2 separate regions of the Homo sapiens genome follow, and region 1 is linked to region 2. Evidence: promoter capture Hi-C in human tissues and cell types (Jung and others, 2019). All regions are on one chromosome and are shown on one strand. The core of a region is centred on a gene start or on the middle of the fragment in contact, and the rest is flanking DNA. Distances in the headings are between cores, read along the strand shown. Region 1 overlaps SLC38A2 (solute carrier family 38 member 2). Region 2 holds the start of ENDOU (endonuclease, poly(U) specific).

What was found. Contacts are between HindIII fragments. The study calls those that stand out against the background at their distance.
Region 1: a fragment that was not itself captured here is called in contact with the fragment with the promoter of ENDOU in region 2 in 1 of the 25 tissues and cell types used here (dorsolateral prefrontal cortex).

The regions. Positions count from the first base shown.
Region 1 is chr12:46,362,245-46,368,739 of GRCh38, reverse strand. SLC38A2 (solute carrier family 38 member 2) reads left to right here. Exons shown (of 16, transcript NM_018976.5): 5 at 1,400-1,473; 6 at 1,572-1,664; 7 at 1,795-1,876; 8 at 3,551-3,633; 9 at 4,038-4,096; 10 at 4,184-4,351; 11 at 4,737-4,816; 12 at 4,914-5,014; 13 at 5,595-5,719; 14 at 6,102-6,246; 15 at 6,359-6,456. Among named protein-coding and RNA genes, the nearest start is that of SLC38A2, 7.3 kb to the left of the region's middle. The HindIII fragment of the contact is 4,962 bases long and covers 1,085-6,046 here.
Region 2 is chr12:47,721,070-47,727,645 of GRCh38, reverse strand. ENDOU (endonuclease, poly(U) specific) reads left to right here and starts at 2,156. Exons shown (of 10, transcript NM_001172439.2): 1 at 2,156-2,287. The coding sequence starts at 2,233. The region is part of intron 3 of RPAP3-DT (RPAP3 divergent transcript); the gene reads right to left. RefSeq lists silencers at 497-556, 1,522-1,641. The HindIII fragment of the contact is 12,082 bases long and covers 1-4,958 here.

The DNA of each region.
Region 1 (6,495 bases), core at 2,316-4,815, 1.4 Mb after region 2:
GTCACTTCAGACTAGGTCCTGTAAAACTTCTGGCATTTAGAATGGTAGTGTAAAGCCACTTCCTCTGTTTAACTAATAGACATCAGTTTCTTTGTCAGCACCTTACATGGTACTGCGTGCAGTTTGTTCATACGGAATTAAAAAACATGTAACTCTTCTCCTTTGCAAGGTTTTCTATGAGTTTCCCTGTTTTGTTATTTAATTTCTTTAAAAAATTAGTCTGTATCTCTGGGCTCTCCTAGGTGGAAGGAAAGTAAAGCTGGAATGAGGGAGAACCCTTACCCTAAAGGAAAATTAGGTGACATTAGGGTCCCTTTAGTCACTCTATGTTACCTTATTTATTTATTTTTTTTCTGTTGCTCAATCCAAGTGAAAGGGTCAAGGGAGGAAAGGCTTAGAGACAGTCAAGCTGATAGCCTACTTGTTCTAGCACAGACATTGTTTAACTGTGACAATAGTGGGCCTGTATTCCTTGCCATGGGGTGCAATGTAGTATGTCATCACAATGGTTAGTTCTCTGATTTGTGCCCAGTTGTTAGTAAAGCTTGTAGTGCCTCTTAAAATGTTAGTATCATGTTAGTGTCATTTCCCCCTTACCATTCTTTTCCTTTTCTTTCTTTTTTTTTTAAAAAGACAGTATTTCATTTTGTCCTCCAGGCTGAGTGCAGTGGCAAACTGCTGGGCTCAAGTGATACCCCCACCTCAGCCTGAGTAGCTGAGACTATAGGTGTACACCACCACAGCTGGCTTTTTGTTTTTCCTTCGGTAGAGATGTGGCTTCCCTATGTTATGTTGTCCAAGCTGATCTCGAACTCCTGGCCTCAAGCAGTCATCCTGCCCCAGCCTCCTAGAGTGCTGGGATTACAGGCATGAGCCACTGCACCTGGCCTGTCATTCCTGTTTTTGTGTATACGGTCCATGTGGTCTTAAAACCTTTCCTGAACGTGTCTCAGTTGAATTTCCCAAGAACCTTGTGGGCTGGGTTTAGTGGCGGATATTACTAATATTTTACAGATAAGGGGAACTACTGAAATGCAGAAAGGTGGCAAGCATACAGCTCATTATTGTGGTGCCAGAATCAAAATACAAGTTTCAAACTCCATCACTGGGAAGTTGAGCTTTCCAGTGTCTCATGCTATGTTTGGCTCAGTGGGTAGACATCCTTGTTCCTAACCAATGCTGTAGAACTATCACCTGAGAAATGATGCAAGTTTTTACTGCCAGCCAAGAGACAGTGTTGCCATTCCAGTTAGTAGGAGAGGAAATGCCAGTTCTTCAGGGCATTTTGACACAAATAGGACAAGTTGCACACATAATGTTATTTAAACATCCAGAAAGAGTTGTCTTTAAATATAGCCATGCTTATTTATAACCCTATGCCTTTTCCTTCTCTCACCAGAATTCTCTTGACATTTGTGTCAATATTTTCCCTGTATTCTGTTCATCTCCTTTTGAAGACTGCCAATGAAGGAGGTATGATAGCATTCTTGATTTTTCTAAAACAATGTATACCTATCATTTTATTTCTCTTTTAAAATCCTTGGCTTCATGCTTCTGTCTTCAAATTGTAGGGTCTTTATTATATGAACAATTGGGATATAAGGCATTTGGATTAGTTGGAAAGCTTGCAGCATCTGGATCAATTACAATGCAGAACATTGGAGGTAAGAATTTTTCAAAAGATTATTTGGGTAGACTTTATGCTCATTGTGGAGCACAGAATGGTGACACATGCGTTTTAGTGTCACGTGCCGCGTTTTGCACTTGTAATGGTATAATTTTGTTTTCCTCCAGCTATGTCAAGCTACCTCTTCATAGTGAAATATGAGTTGCCTTTGGTGATCCAGGCATTAACGAACATTGAAGATAAAACTGGGTAGGTGCTAAGTAAGGTTACTCATAAGAAACAATTATAGTCAAAAGTGGTTAGATACATTTTTATCAAAGTTGTATACAAAATGATTAGTTAATTATCCATAAATGTTCCTTTTGAAACTGACCAAGAAGGCCCCCCATCCCCGTAAACTGATTCGAACTTTGGAGAAGGAAAGGCCGAAAGATAGTAGCTAGCCCTACAATTTTGGATATCTTAATTTCTAAAACAGGTTTTCTAGAACTTGCTTTCTGTCTTTATGTTCATACTTAAAGAAGTTATAGGTGTTTTTAATATATATCCTAAGTGAGGACTGAAGCTTTGAATTACATTAAAAATTAATCCGTCTTATTTTTGTAAGTTTGGAATTCTTAAGACTTAATCTGTTCAATGCAAAATACAGGCTGGACATCCCTAATCTGAAATCCAAAACTTTTTGAGTGCCAACATGACACTACAAGTGGAAAATCCACACCTGATCTCGTGACAGGTGTGCAAAATTAATTAAAATACTGTATAAAATCACCTTTAGGCTATGGGTTTAAGAAGGTGTATAGGAAACATAAGTGAATTTTGTGTTTAGACTTCAGTGCCATCTCCAAGATACTTCAAATATGTATGTGCAGGTACTCCAAAGTCCAAAACACTTCGGTCCCAAGCATTTTGAATAAGGGATACTCAACATGTGCCAGAAAATGTTTGGGCATGCTATAGAAACCATTTTCTTCTAGCAAAGTTACTCATCCCAGTGAACTCACAGGTATTTATCTAAAGTAAACATGGGGAAGGATAATTTACTTCCCACCCTATGTGCAGCTCATTACGTCAAAATAGAGAAGTGCTGTTATCTCAGATGTGGCTTTAGAAATTTAATTTTTTAAGCTGATCTTTAAGTGTTGGTGTTCTGCAGAGTGCTTACTGCTGAAGTGAACAGAATTCATGAGGCAATTAGAATTTGAAAATAGTGATTTAGAAGACAGTGCAATTCATGATTTACCTAAAAAGAAAAAGGCTTAGAGGATATACATAATGTTTTCTAAAGTTCAAAAGGGATATTTTTGGCTGTCTTTGGAGTTAAAGGTGGGTCAAGATGTCACAACATACTCTGATAACCTGGAATAAGTCCTGGTTTGGGGGACTGAGTTTTATAATTTTTTTTATGGGGGGGGCAGTTTGCCTGTGCATTTTATGAAAACGTTTCCTCATTGAAATATTTAATAATATTTGCTAACGCATCTGGAAAAAAACTTGTTTTAAAATTTTTTAGTTTCCAGCATTAGAAATTACATGCTAAAGCTGTACCAAAGTTGGTGTACAATTTTTCTGAAAGTGCTTAAAGATAAGATTACTGGCTTAACAAACAAGCTTTGTTCCCTGCATTAGTATCAAGTCTTTGAGAAGCATTTTGTGTTATGAATCAGCTGGCAGCCTTCCCAGAGCAAGTAGTGGGACAAAAGTTACACTGTTTTATACCCGACTTCTAACCTGAGTAAATGTTCATCTAGCACACAAAATTAAAAAGTTATTCCTATCTTGAACAGGGGAAACTTTTTCCAAACATGTCTTTTTTGTGTGTTTGTTTTCATGGTATTCCTATGAAATGAGTCCTGTTAGAAGATGTGTATATTTTTCAGAGGATATTTGTGACTGTTTTGACCTTGTTTCTGTTTTCTTTAGATTGTGGTATCTGAACGGGAACTATTTGGTTCTGTTGGTGTCATTGGTGGTCATTCTTCCTTTGTCGCTGTTTAGAAATTTAGGTGAGCAAACTCATCTCTAAAGAGAATTGAAATGAGCCTCTCACCAGTTAGTTGGGCTTTCTCTGAATAGAAATTAATCAGAATGAAAAAGCCCTAGAAAGTAGAAAGGTATATCTTTGGGACTTACAGCATGCAAAATTTAGGAGCCAAAATATTTAATTGACACTATATGTTGTGCTTTGTAAGAAATAATGCAAATGATAGTTTTTATTAGCTTGGGTTATGACAAGTATATTTAAATAAATCTATAATTTAGTATCATAAGAATTAGAAATTTAGTGCTATACACATACTTTAGTGCCTAAAGTCTTCCCAGCAGAATTGAGTTATTCAGTGGGAAAAAGATATTTGCCTTAAATCTGTTTCATTAAACTAATACTGATTCCTGCCACCCCTCCTTATAGGATATTTGGGATATACCAGTGGCCTTTCCTTGTTGTGTATGGTGTTCTTTCTGATTGTGGTGGGTATGATTTTTTTTTTAGAAAAAATTTTTTATAAGCCCTGCCATGTCACTTAGTTTAACACATGCAAAATAATATATTTTTAGGTCATTTGCAAGAAATTTCAGGTTCCGTGTCCTGTGGAAGCTGCTTTGATAATTAACGAAACAATAAACACCACCTTAACACAGCCAACAGCTCTTGTACCTGCTTTGTCACATAACGTGACTGAAAATGACTCTTGCAGACCTCACTATTTTATTTTCAACTCACAGGTAACTAAATATGCTTATTTTCTCAAAAGAAGAGTTTAGGGAAGAAAAGAGGGAAGCTATTCACTCCCAGGGTAAAGGGAGGAGGATAATAGGTGCTTTATAGAAAACATGTGATTAGCTAATTATTGAGGACTGTGAAGAAAGTTTTGGTTTACATCTGAAAATAGATTGAGAATTGAGATAATCATATGGTGCTAATAATTGACACATTCAGAAGTGAGGATATTGATCATACTTCATGAACAGATTAGAAGAATGGAAGCTAATTACACAAAGGAAACTTAGGCTTTGATTCTAAGATTGTTTACATAAAATATATGCTGCGGAAATGTGACAGCATGAGTTCGTTACATCAGATTAAGTAGATTTTTACGTTTTCTTTCAGACTGTCTATGCTGTGCCAATTCTGATCTTTTCATTTGTCTGTCATCCTGCTGTTCTTCCCATCTATGAAGAACTGAAAGAGTGAGTATTTCATTTTTACATAAATTTGAGAAAATATTAGACAATTGCTGTAACTGCTGCTGAAATATATATTTGAATTTTCTCTTGAATTACATAGCCGCAGCCGTAGAAGAATGATGAATGTGTCCAAGATTTCATTTTTTGCTATGTTTCTCATGTATCTGCTTGCCGCCCTCTTTGGATACCTAACATTTTACGGTAAGTAACGCCTCCTTTACCAAAACAAAAACAAAAACAAAAAAAAACGCTTATTGAAATGAAGCTGCTAGTTTTCTATGTGTAGTTCCATCACTTTAAAAATAGTCTGTTTTAATATATTTCATATTTGTGATGAGAAATTAAATTTAGAGCTTAGAATTTTCTGTAGTGTATTTAATCAGTAATTTCTAGAATCCAGGTTTGAAAATATCATTAATCATTTGATGGCATATTTGTATGATATGCCAGCCTCTGAGTTCATATTGCCTGTCTCCTCTCCCATCACCTTCAGACTATGTAACACAAACACAAATTGCAAGCCAAGCCAGGAGATTTAGCTGCTTAACTCCTGTTGTTTTTAATGGGAGTCATGTGGCTAAATCTCTGTGGTATTTAGAAAAATTTTCCTTCAATGTTACTTTAATTGCATTAACTATAATTCCAAACAAATCTTATTAGCCTCTTAGTTTATAGTCGTTTTGTGAGTAGCTAAATAACTGGTGCACATTTTGCTGTTAAATTTTCTACTTGGTGTCCAATGAAAACAGCCAATCAAAGTTTTTTTGGTCTTTCCCTGTAGAACATGTTGAGTCAGAATTGCTTCATACCTACTCTTCTATCTTGGGAACTGATATTCTTCTTCTCATTGTCCGTCTGGCTGTGTTAATGGCTGTGACCCTGACAGTACCAGTAGTTATTTTCCCAGTAAGTAATCACTTGCTCTGCTTTCAGTAGGAAGGAGTTTTTAGACATGTGAATATTGGTGAGATTTTCATCTTCTGGAAGAAGGGAAACACCAGTAGAACAATACTAAGTTGGTGGTGGTTTTGAAGGGGCTTTTTAAAAATACAGTGTATATTTTCAAAATACCCTGGGGACATTTTTTTCACCATAAGATATAAAATGATCTTTAAGTGTTCAGATGTTCAGGAAACAGCAGAGAAAGAGGCACAGTTTTATTTAGAAATAGTTACTATTTTGGATAGATTCCTTGTTACTTGGGCATTCTTTTCATTCATTGAAGCTGGATTTTTAAATTTTATATTGCTGCTATTTTTAAAATACATTTTATTTATTTTTTTTGCAGATCCGGAGTTCTGTAACTCACTTGTTGTGTGCATCAAAAGATTTCAGTTGGTGGCGTCATAGTCTCATTACAGTGTCTATCTTGGCATTTACCAATTTACTTGTCATCTTTGTCCCAACTATTAGGGATATCTTTGGTTTTATTGGTAAGTTTTAGAAAGTATCCAAGTGGATTCAAACATCAGGGATTTTAAGATTTAAAGAATGAATGACGAGTGGTTCATTGAATCCTCAAGAAACATAAATGTTGTTTTACAGGTGCATCTGCAGCTTCTATGTTGATTTTTATTCTTCCTTCTGCCTTCTATATCAAGTTGGTGAAGAAAGAACCTATGAAATCTGTACAAAAGATTGGGGTGAGTGAAAGATTATAACCATAGAAACAGTAATAATAT
Region 2 (6,576 bases), core at 907-3,406:
AGTGCTCAGTCAATGTTGCTGGTGGTTGTTAAGGCTGTTATTCTTATTGAAGGATGCAGTTTTAAACACTTGGGTACTCAGATGAACCATCTGGCTCTATGGAGTCATCCTTAACTGTCTTCCCCAGCTCCAATCCTTGCTCCTGACCTAAAATTCCATTAATGGGGGGAGAGCTCCTGCCCTCAAAACACCATCCCATGGCCAGTTCAGCTGGACACTAGGAGAACCTAGCCAGGCTGTACTCCACTCTGACAGCTTTGGCTTCAGCTAGGGTCCACCCAGCTGGACACTTGGAAGGGACAGACCATTCATTCCCAAATTCTGAGGCATCATTGCTTCCCAGGCCAGCCAGTGACACCCTCCTTTGTCCCCTAAACAACAGGAGTCAGAGACACGTTTATGTGGTGCCAACCCAGGGAGGATGAGGATTCTGAGGGGCAGTGACTCTTCAGCCTGCTTTTGGATTGTGTAAATGAAATCTATGCAAATGAAGCAGCCATTTCTGCTCTTACTCATTCTAACCAGCTCCCTTCTGGGAGAGAAGGGCTAGGCTCACTCTTTAGTTGTGCTTCCGGGCTGGATGCAGTGGCTCACACCTGTAATCCCAGCACTTTGGGAGGCCAAGGTGGGCAGATCACCTGAGGTCAAGAGTTTGAGATCAGGTTGGCCAACATGGTCTCTACTAAAAATACAAAAATTAGCCAGGTGTGGTGGTGCATGCCTATAATCCCAGCTACTCGGGAGGCTGAGGCATGAGAATTGCTTGAGCTGGGGAGATGGAGGTTGCAGTGAGCCGAGATCACACTGCTGCACTCCAGCCTGGGCGACAGAGAGAGAGATTCCATCTCAAAATATATACATACATTGCACTTCCTGTGTGAGCCCCTTGCAAAGTTTGCTTGCCCTAGGCTTGTCCTTCTCTCTACCCCTGAGTCCCTATGTTTGGACTCCTCTCTACACAGCAACAGGCTGGGGGATTCTCTTTAACCCACCAGCAACTGTTCAACCTGGCGCATGGGCAGGAAAACTCGAGATTAAAGTCTGAGAACCTGGAAGGGATTGTCAGATCCAACCCCATCATTTCAGATGAGAAAGCTGAAGACCAGCGAGAGGAAGAAACTTCTCCTGTTAAAGCACACTGGATGAAGACGTGCTCCACTCCCAACCTCCAGAAAAAAATCACTGATAGAGTGGCCTCCACTGTTCACCAATTTTGCCTTTTTATATGATAGTTTTCTTTCCTGAGAGGGTTGAGAATCCCCATGCAGTGCTCTTTCTGGCAAGGGCATCATACTTGGCAGATTTTACCTTTATTATCGGGGAAAACTGGACAGTCACGGGGAGCTGCTCCCCTTCTTTTGGACTTGGAAACAAAAGAACCTCACTGGGGAGGAGTTCCTGAGGAGAGGAGTGTAAGTTGGGGTGAAGGGAGTGAAACCCTGGGCTCCCAGGGGAAGAAGAGTGGGCCTTCGGCTGCCTTTAAGAGGCCTCTTGCCCCTCCCCTGCCTCATAAGGAATCTGAAACGTTTAAACCCCAGAGGCTGACTCAGTAAGAGTCATTTGCATAATATTTTAGAGTGATTTAGCCATGCGCTCGACATGTGGCTGATTTAGCTATGCTGGGCTTGGTGGTCATAAGAATAGCACTGGTTCTGACCGACACATCCTCTATCTCTCTGTCCAATGACCCCAACCCTTGCTTGGGCACTTACTGTTTGTCAAATTTGGACCAATCACCTTACTGTGTGCCAGTGTCATGCTAAGCTCCAGGAATTTGAAGATGAATCCAACCTGTGGCCCCTTGGAAAGTCAGGTCTGAGACTTGGAAGTAGGTGTCTGTTTGGTGGGGATCACCCAAAGATCAGCCCATGGGTGTCCCTAATTTGGACAAAGAACCCTCCAAACTGGACCCATCTTGGTGTGCCTGCCTGCATGACCTATTTTTTAAGCTGCAAACAGCTAGCATTACCTGTTCTCAACATCTGGCATTACCTACCTTCTTAGTCACCTTCCCTCAGGCTTCAAACAGCTGTAGGGCCCCACCTCCTATCCATCTAGGGTCCCTCCCTCCCCTTTTTCTTCCTGAAAGGATCTGGAGACACCAGCTCCACAAGTCCTGGTGTCTTTAAAAGGATCAGCTTGAGGAATAAGGCTCGTCTGAGAGCTGTGACATTCATCTGACTCTAGTGAAAGTCCAACAGCCACTCCCTTTTTGGCCTCCAACTGGGCACCATGAGGGCCTGCATCTCCCTGGTATTGGCCGTGCTGTGTGGCCTGGCCTGGGCTGGTAAGTCACTATCTGGCGGGCATGGGATTGCTGGTGGGGCGGGATCTTGCCTAAAGAAGCAGAGAGTTGGAGAACTTGGTAGAGGGCAGGGCCGTGGGACAAGGGAGGGTGAGCTCTGTCCTAAAGCCGCAGAGCACTTTTGGGTTGTCCTTGTCTGAGGGTGCAGGCGTTGGTCCCGGAATGGACTGGACTATGTGGAGAGAGTTGCAGGGCTGATGGTCTGATTTCATGGAATTCCCTTCTTGACACCTTGGAGGATCAGCCCCAAATATCCCTTAGTCCAGCCTGACTTTTGATCTCCCCAAGATTTTGTTGTCTGGGGCCACTGTAAGGAATAAAGCTAGGGCTGGTGTCCATGGGGTCTGAGTGGCCTGGCTGCCCTTGGTCACTCCTTCCACTGCCTGGTGACAGGTGAGGTTGTTTAGGGTGTGATGTTACTTTGGGTAGAGCCTTAGGAGGTGGGCAGGCTTAGGAGGAAACTGAAAGGACCTTTGACCAGGAGGTGGGCCTCGTCCTATCTGGGGCTGTACAGGGGTCAGAGGAATGGATCTCTGTTGCAGTGTTAGGAGAATTGAAGAATACAGAAGGGACCTGGCCCACAGTTATGAGAGGTCCAGGGGATGGGACTGGCAGAGGAACAGGACCATGTTCCTGTTTAGTAACTGTGCAAAATGCTGGTGCTGATGGGTTAATTGGTAGCTAGTGGGTGGGTGGGAAGGAGTGCCAAGGGAGGGGCTGAGCTGAGGAGTGTGGGGAGAATCCTCCTCTGCCCACAGGAGAAAGAATCCTTCCACTGGGTTGCTCCTGTGTAGGACTGTGGAAAGGATTAAATGAAATAATGTATGAGAAGCACCTGGTGCAAAGTGAGATCTCAGTGAACTGGAAATTCGCTATGATTATGACTATAAATTTTCTTGGGAGAAACTTCCGCTTGGGGTCATTTCCAACTGGGTTGTGGAAAGGAGACCCTTATGGGATTTCTAAGTGGAAAACCCCTGGAAGAGGAAGTTGTGCCTCCCAACCATGGATGAGATAGTGCATCTTACCAGAAACCAGCTCTGCCTGGGCCCTAGTGGGTGGAGAGGCAGTGGGAGAGCATGAGGGTGGGCCTGGGAGCCACCAGCCTCAGCCCTGTTGGTTGGGAGGAAGGTGGAACTTGGGGGCTTAATGTGTAGGGGTGGCCAGCGGGCTTGGCATATTCCAGCCTTAGGGAAGGAGAGCAACTCTGGATATTTGGTCCCTGGGGGGCAGAGGTAGCAGTGGCTTTAGAAGTGCAGGTGGAGCTCTTGCTGCTAGGTCGGAGGGCAGTATCTGCTTTGGCTGTGGGATCGATGGGGAAGTGAGGTCAAGTGTATGAGGCTTCCTAAGGTGGCAGGGAAGAGGCTCTGCACTTGTTGATACTATCCCAACATCTCAGAACTGAGAGGCAAGAATATGAATCACATGGGGAATCACTGACAGCCTCAGGTCCTCCTTTATGAGCTGGATGTCTGTGGAGAACCTTGGTTGATTTTTTTGGTTGTGAATGGAGGCAGGAAGCTAGTCCAAGGGGTGAGGCTTCTTGGTTGACTAGGTCTCCATGGAAACAGCATCTGGGGCCTTCTAACGGTACAGATGTGTAGGATGTCCCAGTCATCAGAGGGGCTGAGCACCAGTGTACAGGGACACTGTGTCCACCCAGGCTTGGGACCAAGCTTCCTTGATGGCCAGTATGGATAGGGAGTGGCTGTTCTGGCATATTGAAGTCTTAGAAAGTGCAGAGAAATTGAGCATTTCTTGGGGGAATGGAGGGAGAATCTGAACCCGAGAGAGGAAAGGCTCAGATGAAGAAAGGCAGAGAGTCAGAGAGGTGAGGCAGAGGAACAAGAGGCACAGGTTACTACAGCAGTGATTCAGGCACCTGGCTTGGGGAGCAAGGCTTACTCAGAGTGTTGGTGTTAATGGTGCAGTGTGGGGATGCTGGAGTGAGTTGTTAGGGTGACTAGTTACTCATCAGAGTGTCCCCAGAATGTCACAGCAAAGTGCCTATGAGGAAAAGTTCCTCCCACCCCTGCACTCCACTGTCAAATCCCAAGGTCACCTTGAAGCAGACTAAGTGCACAGAGAAATGTGAGAAAGTGCTGGCATGGGGCTCTTGCTGGAGACAAAGTTCTTGAGCAGAGATGAAAAAGCCCACTCAGCTTGGGCCGGCGGGGGTGCTCTCCTGCACGTCCAGCTGACTGCTCGCTTGCAACCCTTCTCAACTGGTGCCAGCTGCTGGAATGAAGTGAATTCTTTCCCTGGACTCTGCTGATTTGGCCCATTAAAAACATTGCCCTGATTTGCCTGAATTCTCTCCCTTTGGATTCTGGGTGTACTGCCAGGCTGACTGAGCAGGGAGCTGATGGGCTGAAAATTTCTCCTTAAGGTCTTTGCATTCAGGCTCCAAGGGAGCATCATTTAACATTCAAGAGGAGTTCCTGCCGGCTTGAAGGAACAAGTGGCCTTGGGCCTGGTCTCTTTTAGGGACTGGAAACCTGCCTTCCTGCCCACCTTGGAGGCCTGACAATGTGAAGTTGTCTGAGGACCCGGGTTAACCTTGACCCAATGCCTCTCTGATGTAAAGAATACAGACCTGTAGTGATGAAGTCAGCCAGGAAACCAGCAACACAGATGTGCTGACAACCCAGCCCAAGGGATGGCCCTGTTGAAACCCTGGGAGAGTGTCAGCTAGATTAAGTGTGTCGACGGGGCCACAACACAGGGAAGACTGCTCCAGCCAGTCTGAACACTTGTCACTTGGAAGATGGGCATGAAATATTGCCACCGTTTATTCACCTAACAAATACTTCTATGGTACTACTATGTGTCACTTGCTGTCCTAAGTGCTTTACATATATTAACTCATTTAATTCTTACAAATATTCTATGAGATAGGCTCCATTATCATCCCACTTTTACAGATACGAAAACCAACGCACAGAAGTTCAAATAACTTGCCCAAGATCACATAGCTAGAAAGCAGTAGAACCAGAATTCCAGCCTCAAGCAGTTTGGCGCCAGAGTCTAGGTTCTTGACCTCTCTGCTATGCTGTCCCTCATTAGACAAAGTATCAACCTTAATCCCAGAATCCAATACTAGGGACTGGTAACCAAACCCAACCTCTAATATTTAAGCTCTAACCCACTCCAGGCTTAAATTAAGATACTACACCTGTATTGAATCATAACCAGAACCAAGCCCCCAAACAAAACAGGGATTATTCATCTTTTTCTCATCCTGACACATTCCTCAACCCCGAATGTCATCTTAAGTCTATTCCTATTCCTTACCCAAATATCAATACAAAATTGTTAATTTATCAACTAATTTAACTCAAGCCCAAATCCTAACTGTAGTTCTTAACCTAACTAACCCCAACCCTGGTCCAAATTAGGTTTCAGTTTCCTCACTGATACAAATTCTGATGCTGATGGTAACTCTGACTCTGATCTTGACATTCTCTGTAACCCACAGTATGACCTCTGAACCCAGCGTTCGTGAAATCCAAACCTCAGGAACCTCAAATCGAACAAAGACTCTGTTATCACCCTTAAAGCCCAGAGTGGATAGTGGGTTTCCACTGTTCCTTCAAAATGTCTTGTCTTATGTCCCTTGCGACCAAAAGCTTGCTTCTGCAAACCATTTGGCTGCAGTGGGGGATGTGGTCTGTGGTTACATAATAGAATGCTATGCCAGAGCCCAATTCTCACCCGCACCCGCCTCATTCCCCACCCTGAGCATAAATTCATCTGAATGTACTCCAAAGACGGGAAAGAACAGAAAGATGTGACACAGGGGGAAAGAGCGTGCAGAGAAGACCAGAAGGGGAGACAAGAGCAAAGAAGCAAATAACATAACAGGGATGGAATAAGAGCCAGCGGAGGGTCAGGGGCAGGGGACATCCCTGGGGCAGCATGACATGACAGGTGAAGGGGGCCTGTGGGCTACACCCAGTTCACAGACCTCTTTCTTTGGTGTGCTTAAAGTGTTACAAGGTTGGAAAATTTCACATAAAAATGAAGATTTATCTTGAAAAAAAAAGGGAAGGCTCTGGCAACACTGAGCACACATCCCAACATGGCCACAATCGGCTAGAGCTGAGCATCAGCTGCAAATTTCAGATGGAGCATTGCTCTCAAGTTTGTCACGGTCTCCATTTCTTCCTACTGCCTCATACCCTGCTTCTTTACTTGCTTATGTTATGGGCCTAACCCAAATAGGGATTTGGGTTTGTGATCCTGGTCTCTTTGATGAGCCTTGAAATATT